4 separate regions of the Homo sapiens genome follow, and all the other regions are linked to region 4. The links are contacts of gene promoters, found by promoter capture Hi-C in blood cells and fetal thymus (Javierre and others, 2016). All regions are on one chromosome and are shown on one strand. The core of a region is centred on a gene start or on the middle of the fragment in contact, and the rest is flanking DNA. Distances in the headings are between cores, read along the strand shown. Region 1 has its middle 5.6 kb from the start of DNMT3L. Region 2 overlaps CFAP410 (cilia and flagella associated protein 410). Region 3 holds the start of AIRE (autoimmune regulator). Region 4 holds the start of GATD3 (glutamine amidotransferase class 1 domain containing 3).

Region 1 (6,076 bases), core at 1,817-4,316, 130 kb after region 4:
CCGGCCTGTTTTTCTTTTTCTTTTTCTTTTTTTTTTGAGACAGAGTCTCGCTCTGTTGCCAGGCTGGAGTGCAATGACGTGATCTTGGATCACCGCAACCTCAGCCTCCCAAGTAGCTGTGATTACAGGCATGCACCACCATACTCGGCTTTTGTTTTGTTTTGTTTTGTTTTGTTTTTTGAGGAGTCTCCCTCTATTGCCCAGGCTGGAGTGCAGTGGTGCCATCTCTGCTCACTGCAACCTCCAGCTCCCCGGTTCAAGAGAATCCTCAGCTTCCTGAGTATCTGGGGTTACAGGCGTGCACCACCACGCATGGCTAATTTTTGTATTTTTAGTAGAGACAAGGTTTCACCATATTGGCCAGGCTGGTCTCAAACTCCTGATCTCGTGATCTGCCCACCTTGGTCTCCCGAAGTGCTGGAATTACAGGCGTGAGCCACCGCGCCCGGGCTGCCAGGCTAATTTTTTGTATTTTTAGTAGAGATGGGGTTTCACCACGTTAGCCAGTATGGTCTCGATCTCCTGACCTTGTGATCTGCCCGCCTCAGCCTCCCAAAGTGCTGGGATTACAGGCGTGAGCCACTGCGCCCAGCCTATTTTTCTTTTCTTTTTTTTTTTTTTTTGAGACAGAGTCTCTCTCTGTTGCCAGGCTGGAGTGCAGTGACGTGATCTCGGCTCACTGCCACCTCACCCTCCTGAGTAGCTGTGATTATAGGCACGCACCACCATGCCCGGCTAATTTTTGGGGAGGGGGGTCTCGCTCTATTGCCCAGGCTGGAGTGCAGTGCTGCCACCTCGGCTCACTGCAACCTCTGCCTCCCAGGTTCAAGCGAGTCTCCTGCCTCAGCCTCCCGAGTAGCTGGGGTTACAGGCGTGCACTACCACGCATGGCTAATTTTTGTATTTTTAGTAGAGACAAGATTTCACCATGTTGGCCAGGCTGGTCTCAAACTCCTGACTTCATGATCCACCCGCCTCAGCCTCTCAAAGTGCTGGGATTACAGGTGTGAGCCACCTCGCCCCGGCTGCCTGGCTAATTTTTGTATTTTTAGTGGAGACGGGGTTCACTATGTTGGCCAGTCTGGTCTCGAACTCCTGACCTCAAGTTATCCTGGAAGGGCAGTTTTCTTTTTTCTTTTTTTCTTTTCTTTTCTTTTTTTTTTTTTTTTTGGAGATAGAGTCTCGCTCTGTGGCCCAGGCTGGAGTACAGTAGCAATTTCAGCTCACTGCAACCTCCGCCTCCCGGGTTCAAGCAACTCTCTTGCCTCAGCCTCCCTAGTATCTGGGATTACAGGTGCATGCCACCACACCCAGCATTTTTTGTATTTTTAGTAGAGACGGGGTTTCACCCTGTTGGCCAGGCTGGTCTCGACCTCCTGACCTCAGGTAACCCGCCTGCCTCGGCCTCCCAAGGTGCTGGGATTACAGGTGTGAGCCACTGCGCCCGGCTTCCGGAAGGGCAGTTTTCTAACTTCACACCCCAGAACCTCCTGCAGTAAAGGAAGGTTCTGTCCAGGGCGGGTGCCCTGGCGTAGGCCACAGGACAGGAAGCCCCTCGCATCCATCAGAGCCCCCAGTCCCCGTGCACCCCACTGCTGCTCAGCAGAGACCAGAGCGGTCTCAGCAGGAGAGAGGCCCGGTGCTCTACAGATGGGCCCCAGAAAAGCTGGCCTCTCATGGGGAGCTCTCTGGGAGCTCAGTCCCTGAGGCCACCACTGGCATCGGCCCCTGTGATATACCCACCAGCATGCGGACCACAGGTGCTGGTCACTGGGGGACCTCTGGCCTCACTCTCCATGCCCCAGAAAGCCCCAAGGACGCAAACGTGGCAGGGTGGGCCTTAAAGCTCCCCAAGCAGGGCTACGGGGGCTGGTGGAGCACAGTCCCCGCTGTGTGGCTGCCCCTTCCTGGCACTCATGGATGCATCTGGAGTCTTCCTTCTGCATGAGCTCCCATGTCCTCTCCAGCCTGGAAGCCACCCGTGTGCTGGCTTGATGGGGTGACCCACAGCTCACTACACATTGATTTCTCTTTTTTTTTTTTTTGAGACGGAGTCTCACTCTATCACCCAGGCTGGAGTGCAGTGGCGCATCTCCACTCACTGCAAGCTTACGACATTCTCCCAAGTAGCTGGGACTACAGGCGCCCGCCACCACGCCTGGATAATTTTTTTGTATTTTTAGTAGAGACGGGGTTTCACCGTGTTAGCCAGTATGGTCTCGATCTCCTGACCTCGTGATCCACCCGCCTCGGCCTCCCAAAGTGCTGGGATTACAAGCGTGAGCCACTAAGCCCAGCCTACACGATGATTTCTGATGCTGTTGACCCTAGGGGTCTGGAAAGGCCCCTGTGACTCAACCTGGCCTTGGCCTGGGCCCAGCTGGACCCGGGGTGGCCACATACAGCCAGGGCCATGAGGGTCAGGAAGAAAGGACAGGATGGCAGCCTCCACTGTGGAAGCCCCAGGAGCCTGGGGGTGGTCACTGAAGCCTCACCCAGACCTGATGGCCAATGCACTGGACCCCAGCAGGGGCTGCCGCTTCTCCCACCCTCCAGAAGGCACTGTCATGAGTGTGCTTGGGAACAGGGTGCATAGTCAGATTGTTTGGGACACACTGTCTGCCCCTCACCTGCTTGGAGGGTTGTGATTTACATCCCTGCGTGAAGTTTCTGAGAAGCACATAGGACAGACACCCTTAATCAATGGAAGCCCCCATCTCTTCCAAAGCTGCTTCTGCAGAGAGCCTTCCCTTGATGGTGCATTTATAAATGGCACGGGAAACTTTCAGAAAACACCCATGTGGGAAATCGCACTCCAGAAGTGGGAAGACCGTGCAAACCATCTTCTCTCCAGGAGCCCGTGATAGTGCGAGGACTGGCGCCGATGGCCCGCTGGGGGCTGGGGAGCCCCGGGGACCCCATACCGTGTGCCCTCTGCCCTCCAGCCCATGGTGCGGAAGACACTGTCTCACCTCTGCTTGATCAATCTATAGACAGCAGGAGCCAAAGCCCAGCATCTGGAGACACACTCATGTCCTTGGGCCTCTGAGGGGCAGACTGAGGTGGTGATCACGGCAGGCGAAGGGGACGTGGTGACCCCTCCACATTCAGTGGCCACATCGAGTCACAGCTGTAGTGGGGTGGGGGGTGATACGTTTTGTGTTTGTGGAGTGAATGAACGAATGAGCAAACATTCATTTTTCTCCTGAAGACAAAGTGCCGCTGGAGTTAGAGGTGGCGTGAGCTCTTGCGTCTCCTGATCTAGAGAGGACTGCAAGGCGCCCCAGGGCCCATGGGTCCCCAGACTGCTCTCCAGCGCCACACCCAGGCCTGCGGCTCTCTCAACCTTGGATGAAGCTGATGCTTTAATATTGAGAAAGACAAGCCTGGGAGTGGGCCCAGCGCCCACAGTGAGGTCCTGGTTCTCTCCTGCAGACGTCAGCAGCCTCACAGAGCAGGCCTCAGACAAGGCTGTTCGGGACAATAATAAAACGAGTGAAAAAATAAGGCCACTTCCAAATCGTGGCTCCCACAAAAACAAGGTCCCGGGGCCACCCACAAAAATGACCGAATATCCCCCTCTCCTGGCTGAAAGGGGTGCGTGAAGCCTCTTCCCGGGCCATAGTTGGGGTTCACTGAGGCTCCCCATTGAAGAACCACAGCGCTCCTAGCCGAGCCCGGTCCAGAGCTGCCACGGTGAACACGGTCAGATAGTCAGGGACACGCTGTGGTCACAGTTGGCACCTTTGTATTAGAGTCTGAGAATCCCGAAATACTACATCTGCTTCACCCGTTAAATTATCCACCATTTCCCCCAAACCTACTAAGTAAAGGAAATTTCCTTTATGGTACATTTATAAAAGCCATGTACGAAATTGTGTTCTGGAAAACACGAGTTTTATGATGTTCGCATATGTCACATACTTTCATAGCTCAATATTCAAAAGCTGCAAAGTGGGAACAGTGAAATGGTGCTGGATTGTGCAGCCCCCAATGCTACTGAACTATGACATGAAATCTCTGGCAAAGCTTAAGTCTCTCTTCTCTGTTCCTTTCATTTTCTTTGTAACCCTTGCTTGTTTTTTTCTTATTAATTTGAAAGCCTCTTTATATATTAAAGATATTGACTCATATAATCCTCGTATACATAAGTCACAAATATTTTCTTCAGCTTGTTAATCTATTTTAATGTTTAATGGCATTTTTCTATGCAAGCATATTACATTATCATTTAGTCAGGTCCATGAGTCTTTTTTTTTTTTTTTGAGAAGGAGTCCCGCTCTGTTGCCCAGGATAGAGTGCAATGGCATGATCTCTGCTCACTGCAACATCCGCCTCCTGGGTTCAAGCAGTTCTCCTGGCTCAGCCTCCCGAGTAGCTGGGATTCCCGGCACGTGCCACCATGCCAAGCTGGTTTTTTTTTTGTATTTTTAGTAGAGACAGGGTTTCACCATGTTGGTCAGGCTGGTCTCCAACTCCTGACCTCGTGATCTGCCCACCTCGGCCTACCAAAGTGCTGGGATTACAGGTGTGAGCCACTGCGCTTGGCCCTGTCTACGAGTCTTTTTTTAGATTTCCATTCTTCCTAACATATTTAAAAAGTTCCTCTTCACCCCAAGATGGTATAAGCATGCACCTTTATTTTCTTTGGATATTTTATTTCATTTTTTCCATTTCATCATTTCATGTCTTCATTTAAGTCATTTTATGTATTAATTCTAATTGGAATAATTTTAGTGTTTGCCATGGCTTTTGCGAATTACTATCCAGTTCTCTCAAGATCACTTTTGAATACGCCCTCCATTCCCTGATGCATTCAAAACCGTGTGTCAATCACCTGCCTCTCTGAGTGCCTGGGTCTCAGGCTTTGCATTTCTCTCCAGGGGTGTGTCAGTTTCTGCCTTGGAGCTCCTGCCACGCTGGCTGTAGCTTTATACCATGTTTAAACACCCCGCGCCGTGTGACAGTCTTCAGAAGTGTCTTGTCTCGTGTTCACTCACCTTCCACAAGAACATTAAATCAAGTTCTTTGAAAAATCCCATTGGTAATTTGATTGGAATGAATGGTATTAGATTTACACACTAATTAAGGAAGAACTGACTTGTAAAAATACTATTAAGAAGTTAAATCCAGGCCGGGCACCGTGGCTCACGCATGTAATCTGAGCATTTTGGGAAGCCGAGGCAGATGGATCACCTGAGGTCAGGAGTTTGAGACCAGCCTGGCCAACGTGGTGAAACCCCATCTCTACTAAAAATACAAAAATTAGCTGGGCGTGGTGGTGGGCACCTGTAGTCCCAGTTACCTGAGAGGCTGAGGCAGAAGAATTGCTTGAACCTGGGAGGCAGAGGTTGCAGTGAGCCAAGATTGCGCCATTGCACTCCAGCCTGGGCAACAAGAGCAAAACTTCGTCTCAAAAAAAAAAAAAAAATTAAATCCAGGCACACACAGGGGCTCACACCTGTAATCCCAGTGCTTTAGGAGGCTGAGCTGAAGGATTTCTTGAGGCCAAGAGTTGGAGACCAGCTTGGGCAACATAGCAAGACCCCATCTCTACCCAAAATGAGGTGGGAGGATCACTGAGTCTAGGAGTTCGAGGCTGCAGTGAGCCGTGGTCTCACCACTGCACTCCAGCCTGGGTGACAGAGTGAGACCTTGCCAAAAAAAAAAAAAAAAAGTTAAATCTAGGAACATGATGTATCTTTCCATTTCTTTCCTCTTTCTTTTTTTTTTTTTTTTTGAGACGGAGTTTAGCTCTCGTTGCCCAGGCTGGAGTGCAATGGCGTGATCTCGGCTCACTACAACTTCCGCCTCCCAGGTTCAAGCAATTCTCCTGCCTCAGCCTCCCAAGTAGCTGGGATTACAGGCATGCACCACCACGCCTGGCTAATTTTGTATTTCTTTTAGTAGAGACGGAGTTTCTCCATGTTGAGGCTGGTCTCGAACTCCTGACCTCAGGTGATCCGCCTGCCTCGGCCTGCCAAAGTGCTGGGATTACAGGCGTGAGCCACTGTACCCGGCCTCTTTCCTCTTTTTTTTTTGAGACGGAGTTTCGTTCTTGCTGCCCAGGCTGGAG
Region 2 (3,281 bases), core at 1-2,500, 200 kb after region 4:
GGAGCACACAGGCCAAGGGTGGGCAGGCGTACAGCAGGGCAGGCAGGGGACAGGAGCCATCAGGAGGCCCAGGTGAGGCTCTGAGGAAGGAGGGCTGAACATGGGGGCCACAGGGTAGGCCCAGCTCTCGCTGTCCCGGCCCCTCCCCTTCTGGAAGCCGCCCTCAGTCTGTGTTGGAGGTTTCCAGGTTATGTCACAGTGCTGGGTCCCACTGGAGGGACGTGAGGCTCTGCCCCGGCTTCCAGGCCCCAGGCTGAGCATGACAGCAGGAGCGAGGTACCTGAGCGTGATCACCTCCAGGCTGGGCATCTCCTGGCAAATGGAGATCTAGGAGGAAAAGAACATGACTAGCAAGCATGGCACAGCAGGGCATCGCGGCCGCACTGCCATCAGCCACAGAGAACTGTCGAAGCCACGGCCAACCCACTTCCGGGGCCTGAGGGGCACGGCCTTACTCAGCCAGTGTGCCCAGGGTGAATGCCCAGGGCCTGAGGGGAGCGGCCCTGCTCAGCCAGTGTGCCCAGGGTGAATGCCCAGGGCCTGAGGGGAGCGGCCCTGCTCAGCCAGTGTGCCCAGGGTGAATGCCCAGGGCCTGAGGGGAGCGGCCCTGCTCAGCCAGTGTGCCCAGGGTGAATGCCCAGGGCCTGAGGGGAGCGGCCCTGCTCAGCCAGTGTGCCCAGGATGAATGCCCACGAGTATGCCAGGTTCTCCTCTGACACCACCTTGCAGCCCAGACGCCCCGCAGACTGAAGGAGAAATGTGAGGCTCCTCCTTGCACGCACTCTGTCTTTATTAAATTTTACGACAGCATCGTTGCTGTCAGATGCTGCCAGCAGTGGAGACAGAGCATTCATTACTTTAGATGCCCTCAAAGGACATCAGGTAAGGGGACCCCAATGTCCCCTACGCAGGGATAGAAAGCAAGGAAAGGATGGAAATCCCTTCTTGATAACAGGTCTAGGCCAAAAGGAAGACAGGCTTGAGACTGGATCTCAGATCACATTGGTACTGTCAATTCAGGGGTGAGGTGCCCGGGGTGGTCCACAAAGCCTCACAACCTGCAAAGCTCCCACATATGTGAGAGCCCACCATACGCCAGGCATGGCACCAGCAGCTCACAGCCTGGTCAGATGCGTCCCATGTATAAGTGACTCGTGTCTATGGACATGGTACGTTTGTATATTCACTGCTAAACATGCAGTATTTCAGTTACAGCACAAAACAGATTACACCCAGATGCCACGTATCCAGGCTTTTTTTTGTCTTTAAGAAAAGGTACAGTTCAAATTAAAAAAACAAAGGAAAATAAAGAGATAAATAATTGCGCTGGACATGGTGGCTCATACCTGTAATTCCAATACTTTGCGAGGCTGAGGCAGGTGGATCACCTGAACTCAGGGGGTTTGAGACCAGCCTGGCCGACACAGTGAAACTCCATCTCTACTAAAAAGTACAAAAATTAGCCAGGCATGGTGGTGGGTGCCTGTAGTCCCAGCTACTCAAAGGCTGAGGCAGGAAAATTGCTTGAACCCGGGAGGCAGAGGTTGCAGTGAGCCAAGATCGTGCCACTGTACTCCAGCCTGGGCAACAGAGAGAGACTCCGTGTAAAAAAAAAAAAAAAAGAAAGAAACAATTGGTATGCGATCCCTGTGTAAGTTGGGGACATTTTGGACTGAGAAAGACAATGAGGGAGAGAAGAAAAAAATCTTTCACAGACGCACACACTCAAGTTCTCCCAGCAGGGCTTATTCTCTGCCTGCCTTTGGGGCAGCGGCAAGGGGGTACAAGGCTAGATGTGACCAAGAAGAGGGGGTGTAGACCTTCAACTTCCCCGTAACAAAGTAAAACAAGCCCTCCTGGGATTCCTTTCCAGGTGAGAGCAAGTTCCAAACTATTGCTCCCCTCCTCTGCGACCAAGTGACAAAGGGTGTTTCATTTATAGGGATGTTGACGGGAACTGCAAAATAAGCCTGGCACTAGAGAATTGTTTTTCCATTAGTGGTTCTGCAGAATGAAAACCGCTAAGTGAACAAAGTACCAAGTGTGGGACTGAATTGATAGGTGCAGTTTTGTCAACTTAAAAATTCTCTTGGGAAAGAAGCTACAACATTTGGGTTGAGGCTATTTGGAGATGATCAGTGCAATACTTACATCTGTGAGGCAATACTTACATCTGTGAGGCGGCTGCCCCTGGGGAGAGAAAAGATACATACTTTAATTTTGTTAAAGTTGAATAAAAAACACTGAAGACAAAAATTCCAAAAATCACCGATGACTCCCTACAAACCTTAAGATTCTAGGATTTTAATGGCATGGCAAAAAAGGAAGGTTGCCCAGATAACTGGCAAAGGTGTAAACAATTGTTTTAGCTGATTTTCAACTAAACTGTATGTTTGACGTTGGGGTGGTACTTTTTAGATAAGGAGCAGCAGGGTTGCTCCATTTGTAAGACACAAAAAGATGAACTCTTCCTCATGGTCCCTGAGTAGCAGAAGGTTCATTTCTCTCACTGACAGACATAAACAAGGGCGTCTTTATAAGAGGTCAAGTTCAAAGGGTGAACAGGCAACTTATGAAGCAAACTTTAAAAGCCTGAAACAGGGTTGTTGTTTCTCCCAGCTTAGTGGGAGTACTGACCACCCCATGCAAAACAAAGAAATGCATTATTGAAAGCAAATGACACGGGAATTGTAGCCAAAACACCAGATATGCCAGGGCAGAGAGAAAAGCTTTTTAATTAACAGGGAAGAGCTCACTCTGGGCAGTCTGCGGACACCCCTGGGAGGAAGCGTCTGCTCTCGCTGACCCCCACACCCGCCTGCACGGTGAGGCCAGTTGACACGGCGCGGTCACTCTGCTGAGTCCCCAGGGAACCCTGGAGATCTTGCAGGCCTCAACTCCAGGCTCCCTCTTCTGGAAGCTCCTGGTCTTCCTTGGCTCAGTGAGACTCAGCATTACCTGCCTTTCAGCCTGCCTGGGTCCCACCGCACCCACGTCCCTTCCTGTCACCTGCTAGGAGTACCCTGGGAACGGCCGCCCCCAGTACTGATTACCAACGTGTTTCCTGACTCAGTCCTGGAAAGCTCAGTTCTCTCTCCTATTCGACTTGGTCCCAGTGACTGCTGGCAACCCCAGACAACAGACCCAGCCCACAGGGCACCCGGGGCAAAGGCGGGCCGGGAAATGGGGGGGGGCCCAGGCGACCCCGACCCCCGGCCTCCTCCCCTCCCTCACCCGCGGCTCCTTCGCCGCCCTCGCCCCTGCCCCTCCCCCCTTCCACT
Region 3 (5,939 bases), core at 3,201-5,700, 150 kb after region 4:
CCAGTGGGGCAGGTTTGAGGCAAGAGTAGTAGGAGGGGAGGGGGCAGGGGGTCCCCCCTCCAATGCCCTTGGCTGAGCACGGGTTCTTCTGAGCTCACCGGTGCTCGGAGCTGCCTCCCTGACTTGGACAACCATGTGGAATGGCCATCCCGCCCTCAACAAGTAGAGGCAACTTCCTCTCTACAGTGAGGAAATTGAGGCCCAGTGAGGAAGCCTGTGGCCAGGAGGGTGCTAGGGGTCCTCACAAAGTGTCCTGAGGGGACCCACCCCTCCCTTGATGCCAGACCACCTGGCCAGGCTGCAGGAGCAGGGCCCAGGGCCTCCAGGAGCCAAGGCCTGGCCAGGGCTCCATGTTCCCCGAGGCCTTTCTGACTCAGGCTCCTGGCCTCTGGGAGCCTGGCCCTTCCAGGGAGCCACAGGGGATGGAACCTCCATCTGGAGCAGGGGAGAAGGCATGGAGTCCAGGCTTGTTTGAGGGGCCAAGGCTGAGCCCCCTCCAGCCCCTTCCCTGCTCTGCCATTAGGACCTGGCTCCTCCCAACTTCTATACACATCACATGGGCCGCGTCCCCCCACTTTGCAGGCTGAGAACATCTGACGTGACCTGGGCACCTGAGGGGCACCCGGCACAGCAGGAGCATGGACCTGGAGAACCTCTGTTCTTCCGTGCATCAAGGTCCGAGTCGTGGTTCTGCCCCTTAGCAGCTGCGTGACTCTGGCCAAGCTCCTCCCGGCAACAGGCCTCAGTTTCCATATCTGTGGATGGCACTAATCACGATGATGACCTGAGGAGACCGTTCTGCTGATGGAGTGAGCAGAATCACAAAGCTCTCAGGGCCTAGCCCGGGGCATGGCAGGTCCGCAGGCGTCCAAGGGCACAGCACAGATGTGGGAGAAAGGGCTGCGGGGCCCTCCCGCTCCAGCCGAGGACACGGGGCTCAGGGATGGAGCCCAATACTGTCCCAGAGCTCTGCTGCCCAGGTGCCTCTTGGGGAAACTGAGGCTCAGTCCCACAAAGGCATCAGTCCCACTGAAGACAGGGCCGAGTCCCCAGCCCCTCACCCCCCTCCAGGGGTCTGTGCCACCTCCAGGGAGCCGTGGCGGCTCCATGTCACCTGCGGGCAAGGGGCTGGTGTGGAAAGCCCCACGGCATGGTGGAAAGTCCGAAATTCTACAGGGGCCTCTTTGTTAAACCTCCATGCAAGAGGCTGGGTGACGCCTGCCCACAGGGGTCAGGCCCCAGCCCAATGACACAGGTGACCCGCAAAGACTGCAGGTCTTTTTTAAAAAGTGAAGTGCAGACTTGGATCTCGCTTTGCAGTTTTTAATTCCCCTTTAACCATCTCTGGGCTAAGGCATCCATTGACTCACTTAACCATCTGGGGAGGGAAAAGCCACCGGGTTGCAGGGGGTGACTTTGGGGCAGGATGGCCTCTGAAGGGGTGGGTTGCCCCTCCACACCTGTGGGTGTTTCTCGTTAGGTAGAACGAGAGACTTGGAAAAGAGACACAGACAAAGTATAGAGAAAGAAATTGGGGGACCAGGGGACCGGCGCTCAGCATACGGAGGACCCCCGCTGGCCTCTGAGTTCCCTTAGTATTTATTGATCATTTTTGGGTGTTTCTCGGAGAGGGGGATGTGGCAGGATCATAGGATAATAGTGGAGAGAAGGTCAGCAGGTAAGCACGTGAACAAAGGTCTCTGCATCATAAACAAGGTAAAGAATTAAGTGCTGTGCTTTAGATATGTATACACATAAACATCTCAATGCCTTAAGGAGCAGTATTGCTGCCTGCTTGTCCCACCTCCAGCCCTAAGGCAGTTTCCCCCTATCTCAGTAGATGGAATATACAATCGGGTTTTATACCGAGACATTCCATTGCCCAGGGACGGGCAGGAGACAGATGCCTTCCTCTTGTCTCAACTGCAACGAGGCGTTCCTTCCACTTTTACTAATCCTCCTCAGCACAGACCCTTTACGGTGTCGGGCTGGGGGACGGTCAGGTCTTTCCCTTCCCAGGAGGCCATATCTCAGGCTATCACATGGGGAGAAACCTTGGACAATACCTGGCTTTCCTAGGCAGGGGTCCCTGCGGCCTTCCGCAGTGTTTTGTGTCCCTGGGTACTTAAGATTAGGGAGTGGTGATGACTCTTAACGAGCATGCTGCCTTCAAGCATTTGTTTAATAAAGCACACCCTGCACAGCCCTTAATCCATTTAACCCTGAGTTGACACAGCACATGTCTCAGGGAGCACAGGGTTGGGGGTAGGGTTACAGATTAAAATGGAGTCTCTTATGTCTACTTTCTATGCAGACACATTAACAATCTGATCTCTCTTTCTTTTCCCCACAGCCTCAAAGGAGAGGAAAGCCAAGTTGCTGGGAGCAACGGTTACTGGTCATCCCAAAGCTGTGTGCGCTGGTTCCCTGGCACCCCAGGGGCTTTTATGCATGAACTGTGCAGCCAGTGGGCCCAAGGGTTGCCATTGAACTTGATGTTAGTGAGCTCTCCCTTCGTGAGACCCCTGCCCATGGATGAGCAAGGAGAATGGGGGTGTTTCAGGAGCAGACAGGGATCCTGTGCAAAGCTGGGCTTCTGTGCAACTTTCGCTTGCAGTTATTTAAATATTTTTGCTGTAAATACAGAACTGCAGGGGAGAGGGCAGGAAACCCAGCGAGCAGCAGCCCGGCCTGGCTGGGGACAGGATGTGTCTGTTGGAGCGGGGACCGGCAAGGCAGGCATGCAGGCAGGGGGCTTCCCTCTCGGGGTCTTCGGAAGGCGCAGTGCAGGGAGTGAGAGACGCCCAGGCCTGGGCAGCGAGAGGGCCCTGCTCCCCGCTCAAGGCTCCCAGGACATTCCACACAGGAGCCAGCCTGTTCCAACCCTGCACTGCCTGATACTCCACAGCCACCACTGAGATGGACCCCCTCCCCCTCAGCTCCCCATGACGTCCCCAGCACCTGACCCCAGGCTGACCACCTCGGCCACCACCTCTGGCCCCACCTTCCTCCCCAGGTTTGTTCCCAAACACCCCTAGAGTCTTTTCCGGAGCAATCTCAGACGTGCAGAACGCTCAGGGGGACCCTGGGCCTGAAGGCGGTAGGAGAAACCGAGACCGACCCCTGGTCTAGAGGAGAGGTGTCTGCCGCTCTCCATCCTGGACTCTGGCTGCCCAAAAGCAAACGGCACGCCTGCCCACGTGGGAATCTTGGTGGCGTCTCTCACTGCATCAGTTAGCCCCCAGCCCAGTGCTGCCTGGATTCAGGCTTCCTGGTACCTTCGTCCACCCTTCAGCCCTAATCCATGCTGGCCAGGTCATCTCGTTCTCTGGCTCAGTGGGAACACTCGTGCCCAGAGACCTCTCGTGGTTCTCTGCAGCCTGCACACAGGGCCTGCTTCCCTGGCTTGACCGCACAGACAAGGGGACTGTTACCAAGGCCTCCCACTGAGGCCACCCCCCCTCCAGGCCATGCCTGCGGGGCCACCACAGCCTCAGCATCATTGCAGGCCCCAGGCCTCTGCACCTGGTCTTGTTTTACTGGGGGCACTGTCCCCACTCACGTCCACCTGGGACCCTCGGCTCCTGTCCACTGCAGCTCCCCTCCCGGACACCTTCCCAGATGCCCCCGGAAGCTCCTGTCCAGGCCACAGCATCCCTCAGCCTCTGTCACTGGTCCTAGGAAGACCCTTTGGGAGCTCTCACTCAGGGCCACACTCAGGACCCCCGTTGTGGGGCTGGCCGCCTTCCTTCTAAAGCACCTGGAGGAAGGAAGGAGGGGGTCAATGCGAGCCTCAATCCCCAGGCGAGTGTGCCCCTTTTAAAGATGAGGGAACCGAGGCTCAGAGAAGGAAAGGACTTGCCTGGCGTCACACAGCTAGCCTAAGATGGTGAGGTCAGGAGCTCCCTGGCAACACCCAGGCTGCCGTACCGTCTCCTGCATCAGACTGAGCCTCCATCGGGCTCCTCCCACAGCCCCAGGCGGGCCCCTGAGTAGGGGCTCTCAGCTTGTGTGGAGGTCCCCCAGGAACACCACCCCGATCCAGCCTCCATGGAGGCTCTTGCCGGCCACTGGGAGGGGCCGGTGCACCCTGGGCAGCCCCTGCCAGGGCCCTGAGACCCGAGCCTCCCCGCCGAGGGCACCTGTCTCGGCTTTGCCCCATTCGAGCAGGGCCCTCGCCGAGGCAGGACAGGGCCACATTCGGAAGTGAGAGTTCTCTGAGTCCCGCACAGAGCGAGTCTCTGTCCCCAGCCCCCAAGGCAGCTGCCCTGGTGGGTGAGTCAGGCCAGGCCCGGAGACTTCCCGAGAGCGAGGGAGGGACAGCAGCGCCTCCATCACAGGGAAGTGTCCCTGCGGGAGGCCCTGGCCCTGATTGGGCGCCGGGGCGGAGCGGCCTTTGCTCTTTGCGTGGTCGCGGGGGTATAACAGCGGCGCGCGTGGCTCGCAGACCGGGGAGACGGGCGGGCGCACAGCCGGCGCGGAGGCCCCACAGCCCCGCCGGGACCCGAGGCCAAGCGAGGGGCTGCCAGTGTCCCGGGACCCACCGCGTCCGCCCCAGCCCCGGGTCCCCGCGCCCACCCCATGGCGACGGACGCGGCGCTACGCCGGCTTCTGAGGCTGCACCGCACGGAGATCGCGGTGGCCGTGGACAGCGCCTTCCCACTGCTGCACGCGCTGGCTGACCACGACGTGGTCCCCGAGGACAAGTTTCAGGTGGGCTCCCCGCCCGCCCCCCGCTGCCCCCAGGCCCTGTGAGCCAGGGATAGTCCCCGGGGAAGTTCCAGGAGGACCCCGCCCCTCCAGATCCCCAAGCCCCTCCAGCCTTCCCCAACTCCCTCCCCACAAGGAGCCAGGGGCGTCCCTGATGACAAGTTAGAAGTTGGTCCCCTTCCCCCAGCCGTCCCCACACCTCACCCCCAAGCCAAGGGAATGGCCTCCAGGTTCCCCCAGCCCCACCCTCAACACCCCTACACCACCACCTGACTCCACCACAAGCCGAGGAGATGGGCGTGGAGCTGTCCAGGTCGCCAGCGCCTCTGCCTGGGAGCTCCACCCTCTAGTCATGATGGAGATGGGCAGGCCGCAGGGTGTGGGGGACCATGGCAGGGACCCTCATGCCACCCCACTGCAGGAGACGCTTCATCTGAAGGAAAAGGAGGGCTGCCCCCAGGCCTTCCACGCCCTCCTGTCCTGGCTGCTGACCCAGGACTCCACAGCCATCCTGGACTTCTGGAGGGTGCTGTTCAAGGACTACAACCTGGAGCGCTATGGCCGGCTGCAGCCCATCCTGGACAGCTTCCCCAAAGGTGGGTCCTGGTGGACTCAGCCATGCTGGGGGCCTGGGGCAGCTGCTGTCACCTGCTCAGCCCAGCTGGACTGGAACCGGAGTGGTGTTTGAGGAGCCCGTGGGTGATGTTCCAGGACCGTCTTGGATCCTAAGAGGCAAAGGGGCCAGGCCTCACCTGTCTGGCCAAGGTGTCCAGTTCTGGGGCCCACCCTACCCCTGGAGAAAACCCTGAGGTTGGGACCCTGCTCCTGCCCCTGAGCTGCAGATGTGGACCTCAGCCAGCCCCGGAAGGGGAGGAAGCCCCCGGCCGTCCCCAAGGCTTTGGTACCGCCACCCAGACTCCCCACCAAGAGGAAGGCCTCAGAAGAGGCTCGAGCTGCCGCGCCAGCAGCCCTGACTCCAAGGGGCACCGCCAGCCCAGGTACCCTCCCTGCAGGGGAAGCCAGCCAGGGTCTCCAGTCTTCCCGGGCTTCCCCGGGAGCCCACGCCCCCTCCCCACCCGGGCTCCCACCCACTGGGTGTGGGGCCAGCCTGCCTGGGGCTGTGGGGGTCTCCTCTGGGTACTAGACCCACACACTGGACCAGCCTCTCAGCTCCCTCCTGCCTGAAGGCTGAGCTCCCCGGAGCTGGTGAAGTAGGCGGGCGGGTCTCA
Region 4 (6,096 bases), core at 864-3,363:
TGACACTGAGGTGGGCACTTCACCGACTGCCAGTGCTGTCTGCCAGGCCCAGCCTGTCCCTCGCCAGCGGTGTGGCCCCCAAGACCCTGGGTAGTACCTGGCTCCCTTGCTTATCTGGGAAGTGGAGCTGATATCTGCCTGCCGGCCTCCCGGGGGTGGCGTGAGGCCAGATGTGCTAGAGAGTGGAGATGAATACGACAGGCAGTGCCTTGTGGCCCACAGCACTGTACCTGCAGGCCTGCAGACCAGAGGTCTTTGTAGAAGGGAGGAGCTCAGGCCCTGATGACACCAGGTGTTCTGTGGCTGCACAATCTCCGTGACCCAGACGAGAGAGAATCCTTAGCTATCGCCTACCCAAAGCACAAGTTCCAGTGTTCCCCTCCCTTGCCTCGCCCTTTTCCGTGAAACAATTTCCAGCGTTCCCCCTCCTCGCCTCACCCTTTTCTGTGTCACATGTGCATGGCGATGGACACCTGAGTAGTCGCCCCTGGGACAACTGGAGCTGCGGCTCTGCAGTGGGGTCTGGGAGCTCCCGGCCAGGGGCAGCTCCCGCACACTTGGTAGAGACAGGGTCCTGGCCCCCACACCGACTGAGTGAGAGTCTGCATTCGGCATTTCCTTTCTGAGTGGCGCTTGGTGTTTTTTTGTGCCATCCCACAACCCCATCGCTCCCACCAGCTGATGCTCCCTGGCTGGCCGCTCCCCAGGAGCTGAGAAGCCTGAAGAGGGCCAGGCACGGAGGAGCAGGAACGAGGACAGTCAAATGTGCCAAGCTTGTCTTTGGTTGTAACTGGTAATGTCCCATGTCTGTTATTCTAGTTCCCCACTATCTTGCAAGGATTGGCAGTAAAGTCCTAGTGATGGACAACGCGGCAGTGGGGAAAGTGACAGCCGTGGCTAGATCATCAGATGTGTCTGTAGAATCCGGTGTGTCCCTGTGAACATCCGCCAGCAGTAACCATTCACATTATTTCAAAAACCTGCATTATTAGGTTGAAAATGGGTAAATCGGGGAAAAAGCCAGCACTTATCCAGCTATTCCTCTGTGAACTAACCCATGCATAACAAACAGATTTTTTTAATGGAAGAATTCCAGCTAGGACCCGAGCAGCTGGGATCTTCACACTGACCGTCCATGCTGTGAACGTAAAAAACAAAAACAAAAAAACAAACCCAAACAGCGCCCGGGAATGGTGGCTCACGCCTGTAATCCCAGCACTTTGGGAGTCCGAGGCGGGCAGATCACCTGAGCTCGGGAGTTCAAGACCAGCCAGACCAACATGGAGAAACCCCGTCTCTACTAAAAATACAAAATTAGCCTGGCGTGGTGGCGCATGCCTGTAGTCCCAGCTACTTGGGAGGCTGAGGCAGAAGAGTCGCTTGAACCTGGGAGGCGGAGGTTGCGTTGAGCCGACTTCGCGCCATTGCACTCCAGCCCGGGCAACAAGAGGGAAACTCCGTCTCAAAAAAAAAAAAAAAAAAACCCAAACAGAATCGGCGGCTCACTTGCCCCCAGACTAACCCAGATCAAGCCCCTGGGTGGAACTGCAGTTTCCAGGATACAACATCCCGGGGTCAGTAAAACCCGGAGGGGTCGCTCCGTGGGAGCCGGAGCCGCGAGGAGACAGTCATGGAAGCGGAGGGGTAGTCCTGACCCCGCGTGGGTCCTGACGCCGAGATTAAGACGAGTGGCCATTTAGGAGGATGTGGACCCTGGACGCTCGTGGTGAGTTAAGGATGAGACGGAGGTAAGGTAAGAAGCGCCGGACTGAGCCGCCCCGAGGCAGCCTTGCTCTGCGGATGGCGGAAAGGGTGCGCCGCCTGTGGAGGCGTCCGATGGGGGCGGGGCTGGGGACCCCGGGAGTCACCAGCATCCCTCAGCCTCGAGCACGAGCCCTCAGCCACCACCGGAAGGAAGACAGGGTTCCCGGAACTCTATTCGGAGGCTCTGCGCAGGCGCGGCCCCCGCCCACCGGCGAACTCACTGGATAGGGCTGAGACGGGGGCGGGTCTTGGCTCCGCCCAGAAGGCTGCGCAGGCGCAGTCCCGACGAGCAACGCGTTTGTAGAGGGGTGGGTGCGCACGCTCTGTCCCTGCGTGACCTTCCGACCCCGCTGTCCTCACCGCAATGGCGGCTGTGAGGGTCCTGGTGGCCTCGAGGCTCGCTGCGGCATCTGCATTCACGTCCCTGTCCCCCGGCGGTCGGACGCCTTCCCAGCGCGCAGCCCTTCACCTCTCCGTGCCGCGCCCCGCGGCCAGGGTCGCGCTGGTGAGTGGACGGAGGGGGTGAGGTCAGCTCCCGCCTCCAGAGATCAGCCTTCGCTGTTCTCTGCCCAAGGTCGGCCCCTCTTCCTAGGTCCGCTCCCGCCGCCCCACGTCGGCTCCTTCACCCCAAGTCAGCTCCTGCGGCCCAGGTCGGCCCCATTTTCCCGGGTCAGCGCCCGCGGCCCAGGTCGGCCCCTTTCCCCCCAGTCAACTCCCGCCGCCCAGGTCGGCCCCTTTCCCCCGGGTCAGCTCCCGCTCCTCTCGCAGGTGCTGTCTGGATGCGGAGTCTACGATGGGACCGAGATCCACGAGGCCTCGGCGTAAGTCCTCAGGGGCAGCTGGTCCTCCACCCCGGGGGCCTCGAGAAGGCCTCTCCACCAGTGAAGTTTACTCTTTTTTGAACAGCTTAGAGAAAGCATGTATTTTATTTTATTTTTACTTTTTGTCTTTTGAGACAGCGCCCAGTCTGGAGTGCAATGGCGCGATCTTGGCTCACTGCGGCCTCCGCCTCCTGGGTTCAAGCGATTCTCCTGCCTCAGCCTTCCGAGTAGCTGGGACTACAAGCATGCACCACCACACCCAACTAATTTGTGTATTTTTGGTAGATACGGAGTTTCACCATGTTGGCCAGGCTGGTCTCAAACTCCTGACCTCAAGTGATCCTCCCGCTTTGGCCTCCCAAAGTGCTGGGATTACAGGCATGAGCCACTGCACCCGGCCGAGAGAGCTTGTATTTTAAATACCCTATTCTTGGCTAAAAAAAAGCAAAAACGACTTGCAAAACCCAGGGAGACGCTAAGAAAGAACAGTTTTTAAGTGTCGCTTATGCTGTCACCTAGAGCCTAGAAATGACTTAGCATTTCACTTGAGTGTTTTTCAGGACACACACATTTTGAAAACACTGAGATCACACTCACCCGTGTTTTGCAAATGTTTCTGACGCATGGGAAGTAATTCCCATTCATTCAGTTCTCAACATCATTTTAACAGTTGCGTGGTATTTCTGGGTCCTAGACAGGTTACTGTTTACGTAACTGGTCAGCTGTTGCTGAGTGCTTGGTGGCCTGATTTCCTGTGCTACTGGAAATGACTGCAGGCCGAACCAGTAGGGCAGGAGGCCACCACGCGTGCCAGGTACCTGTAGTTCCCATGTGGTTCAGGGTGAACTGGAGAGGGGAGAGCTGGGTGGTGGCGAAAGGGGTGTCAGGCCATGGAGAGTGGCCTGAGGCTGGTGGCTTTGTGGGTGGCCCACCTTGGCTGGTTGGAGTTGGCACTAGGCAGAGTGAGCTGGGGGAAAGGGCCAGGATGTGTTTCATGATTTGGCCTTGGTGGGATAGAAAATAGCCCCAGAATAGCTTGAGCCCTCCCAGGCAGAACGGCAGGGTCTTGTGTCTGGGGTGTCTGGGTGGATTTCTTATGGGTAGCGGAACCCAAGTGCCAGGGCCAGGTGCTGACCTCTCCCTCTGGCAAGTCACTGCACTTCATGCCTCGGTTTCCTCCTCCACGTAAGGGGCAGTGAGGGCTTAGTGTGTGGGTGGGCTTAGCCACCTATCTCCTGTTGGCACTGGGAGTTGCGGATGCCAGCGTGAGCCCCCATAATGTCAGCTGTTGTCCCCAGGAGGAGCTTCTGTTGCCCTTGCCCTTGGGGAGATGGAGCTGCCTGGCCTGTGGTGTTGTCCTGGGGTCTCTTGTGTCTCTCCCACCATCTGTGATGGGAAAGTTGAGGGAGACTAGAAATTGAACTAAGTAGTGACCGAAAGCCCCGTCACACCGTCTGTGCACGTGGCACTCTGAGCACACTGCTGCTTCTCACTCTTGGTGCTTGCAGCAAGCAACTGGAGGAGGGCAGCCAGGCCCTGGGTGTAGGTAGAGCACTCAGCAGCCGGGGACCCGCACGCCTCCAGGCTGTGCCCTCAGTGGAGTCACCCGGCCCCCATACCCCAGTTTGCAAAGGGAGCTGTTGGGACCAGCTGATCTCCATAGCCCACTTCTGAGGGTTTGTCATAGTCGTAACCCACCAACCGACAGTGAATTGGAATGGGGGTGTGGGGGACGTTTGGCTTGGTATGGAACCAACTGTAACTTTTTGCAGAGCAAGTAAGATATTAATATACATTAGGAATTTGCTCCTGGTACTTAGCTAAAATCCTGTTTTTAAAAATGTGTTAACACAAATCTGAGTGGGGCACGTTTTGAAGAGTTGTCTCTGGTTTTCCCCCGTGCAGGATCCTGGTGCACCTGAGCCGTGGAGGGGCTGAAGTCCAGATCTTTGCTCCTGACGTCCCTCAGATGCACGTGATTGACCACACCAAGGGGCAGCCGTCCGAAGGCGAGAGCAGGTGTGGGGGTGGGATTGGAACTTGCTTCTTGTCTACCTCCCACGGTGCAGCCTTTTTTTGCTGGCTTAGCTTAAACCAAGTCTTGTGTGCAAATGAACGTCCTTCTGAGCAGCTGTGCTCGGGCTGTTCCAGAAGTAATGCTGCCAAGGCTCAGGAGTGCCTTCCTTCCAGTACTCACAGAAGGACTGAAAATGGCGACCGGATCGCTTCCCACTGAGTCAGGCTGCTCATACCTTGGTCTTAAGCAAAGGTGGTGGTTCTCAGCTTGGTCGCCCACCTTCTTCCCCTGTCTGGGCTCCAGATCTGTTTTGCTGGTTCCCAGCAGCATGTCTGTTACTGCGGTGTGTGTGGTTCTGGCCTGTGTGGCCTGAGATCCCCTTCCCTTGCCTGTCCTGCCTGACAGCCCTGTGCAGGCCATTCCAAGGTGCCTTCCAACTGGCCTCGGACCACGAGAGGTCGGAGCTGGAGATTCGAGGAAGAAGCCATAGCTGCCTCCTGGGGCTGTGCTTCTCACCAGTGGGGACCCCTGTGATTTCTTTTCCTGCCTGGGACCCTGGCTTCTGCACCTGGACTTGCACCTTCGGCCCCCACACCTGGGGGCTAGCAGCTTCCTGCGGTGGCTGGCCTTCGGGTTGCTTCACTGGTCCTGAGTCCTGGCTTCTTACCTTCCCCTCTGAGTCCCACCGTCCTGATGAGTGCACAGAATTCTGTCTGCTTTAGACACTCGGAGAGACTTCCATTTCCCATGGGCCTTGACTGCAGAAGATTCAGAGTGATTTGGCGCAGGTTCTGAAGTGCTGATCGGAAGAGCCCAGCATAGATTTAGCGTTGCTAGAACCATGTTGTCTTTCCAGGTAGTGACCAAACATGCTGACCTGGAAGTAAGTCCCCGTGTGGCTGAGAGCCACGTGTGTGGAGCGTGTTGCCTGTGGGCTGTGCCCCTGCCGCGCTCCACAGTCCTTCACCTGCATGCTGAGGCTTTTTGCCCTGTGCTCTTTCCCAGGAATGTTTTGACCGAGTCTGCGAGGATCGCCCGTGGCAAAATCACAGACCTGGCCAACCTCAGTGCAGCCAACCATGATGCTGCCATCTTTCCAGGAGGCTTTGGAGCGGCTAAAAACCTGTGCGTATTTGAGCTCCAAGGTCTTCCGCTTTCCATGTGGAGCAGATGGGAAGGGGGTGCACCTGTCTGCTGTCCAATGTGGTCAGTGGAGCGGCGATGGGAGGGGGTGGTGATAGGAGCAGTCTCTGGGTTTAGGGTCTGGGCAGGGCACGTGCCTGCCCTCTGACTTGGGAGCTGTTCTTAGGGTTGGGTCTTAGGTAGCGTTGTAGCGAGCCATGCTTTTGTTTCTGCTTCTCTGCTGCCTCTTCTCTCAGCATTCCTGGTACCCAGCAGCTTGTCAGAGTGGGTTTGGGGCTCCCTCTTATCTCATCACTGTGCTGTAGGTCTCGTCACGTTGAAATCAGTCTCTGAGTATTTACTCCTTGCAAG

The links. Contacts are between HindIII fragments. The CHiCAGO score rates a contact against its expected background, and 5 or more counts as called.
Region 1: a contact is called between a fragment that was not itself captured here and the fragment with the promoter of GATD3 in region 4, in 9 of 17 cell types (monocytes, M0 macrophages, total B cells and 6 more). The highest score is 10.9, in monocytes.
Region 2: a contact is called between a fragment that was not itself captured here and the fragment with the promoter of GATD3 in region 4, in 17 of 17 cell types (naive B cells, total B cells, M1 macrophages and 14 more). The highest score is 14.0, in naive B cells.
Region 3: the fragment with the promoter of AIRE here is called in contact with the fragment with the promoter of GATD3 in region 4 in 4 of 17 cell types (M1 macrophages, endothelial precursors, M2 macrophages and 1 more); the score reaches 7.6 in M1 macrophages.

The regions. Positions count from the first base shown.
Region 1 is chr21:44,264,439-44,270,514 of GRCh38, forward strand. No RefSeq gene overlaps it. Among named protein-coding and RNA genes, the nearest start is that of DNMT3L, 5.6 kb to the left of the region's middle. RefSeq lists enhancers at 1,598-2,227, 2,228-2,857. The HindIII fragment of the contact is 1,921 bases long and covers 2,107-4,027 here.
Region 2 is chr21:44,335,478-44,338,758 of GRCh38, forward strand. CFAP410 (cilia and flagella associated protein 410) reads right to left here. Exons shown (of 7, transcript NM_004928.3): 2 at 2,172-2,190; 3 at 281-327. Among named protein-coding and RNA genes, the nearest start is that of CFAP410, 2.3 kb to the right of the region's middle. RefSeq lists a silencer at 3,082-3,201. The HindIII fragment of the contact is 2,953 bases long and covers 1-2,727 here.
Region 3 is chr21:44,281,426-44,287,364 of GRCh38, forward strand. It overlaps AIRE (autoimmune regulator), which reads left to right and starts at 4,451. Exons shown (of 14, transcript NM_000383.4): 1 at 4,451-4,713; 2 at 5,132-5,306; 3 at 5,553-5,708. The coding sequence starts at 4,582. RefSeq lists enhancers at 1,023-1,102, 1,519-2,122, 2,123-2,724, 2,725-3,328, 3,329-3,930. The HindIII fragment of the contact is 40,453 bases long and covers 1-5,939 here.
Region 4 is chr21:44,131,570-44,137,665 of GRCh38, forward strand. It overlaps GATD3 (glutamine amidotransferase class 1 domain containing 3), which reads left to right and starts at 2,114. Exons shown (of 7, transcript NM_004649.8): 1 at 2,114-2,269; 2 at 2,533-2,585; 3 at 4,491-4,604; 4 at 5,608-5,727. The coding sequence starts at 2,129. RefSeq lists enhancers at 1,614-2,141, 2,142-2,669, 2,670-3,197. The HindIII fragment of the contact is 13,325 bases long and covers 772-6,096 here.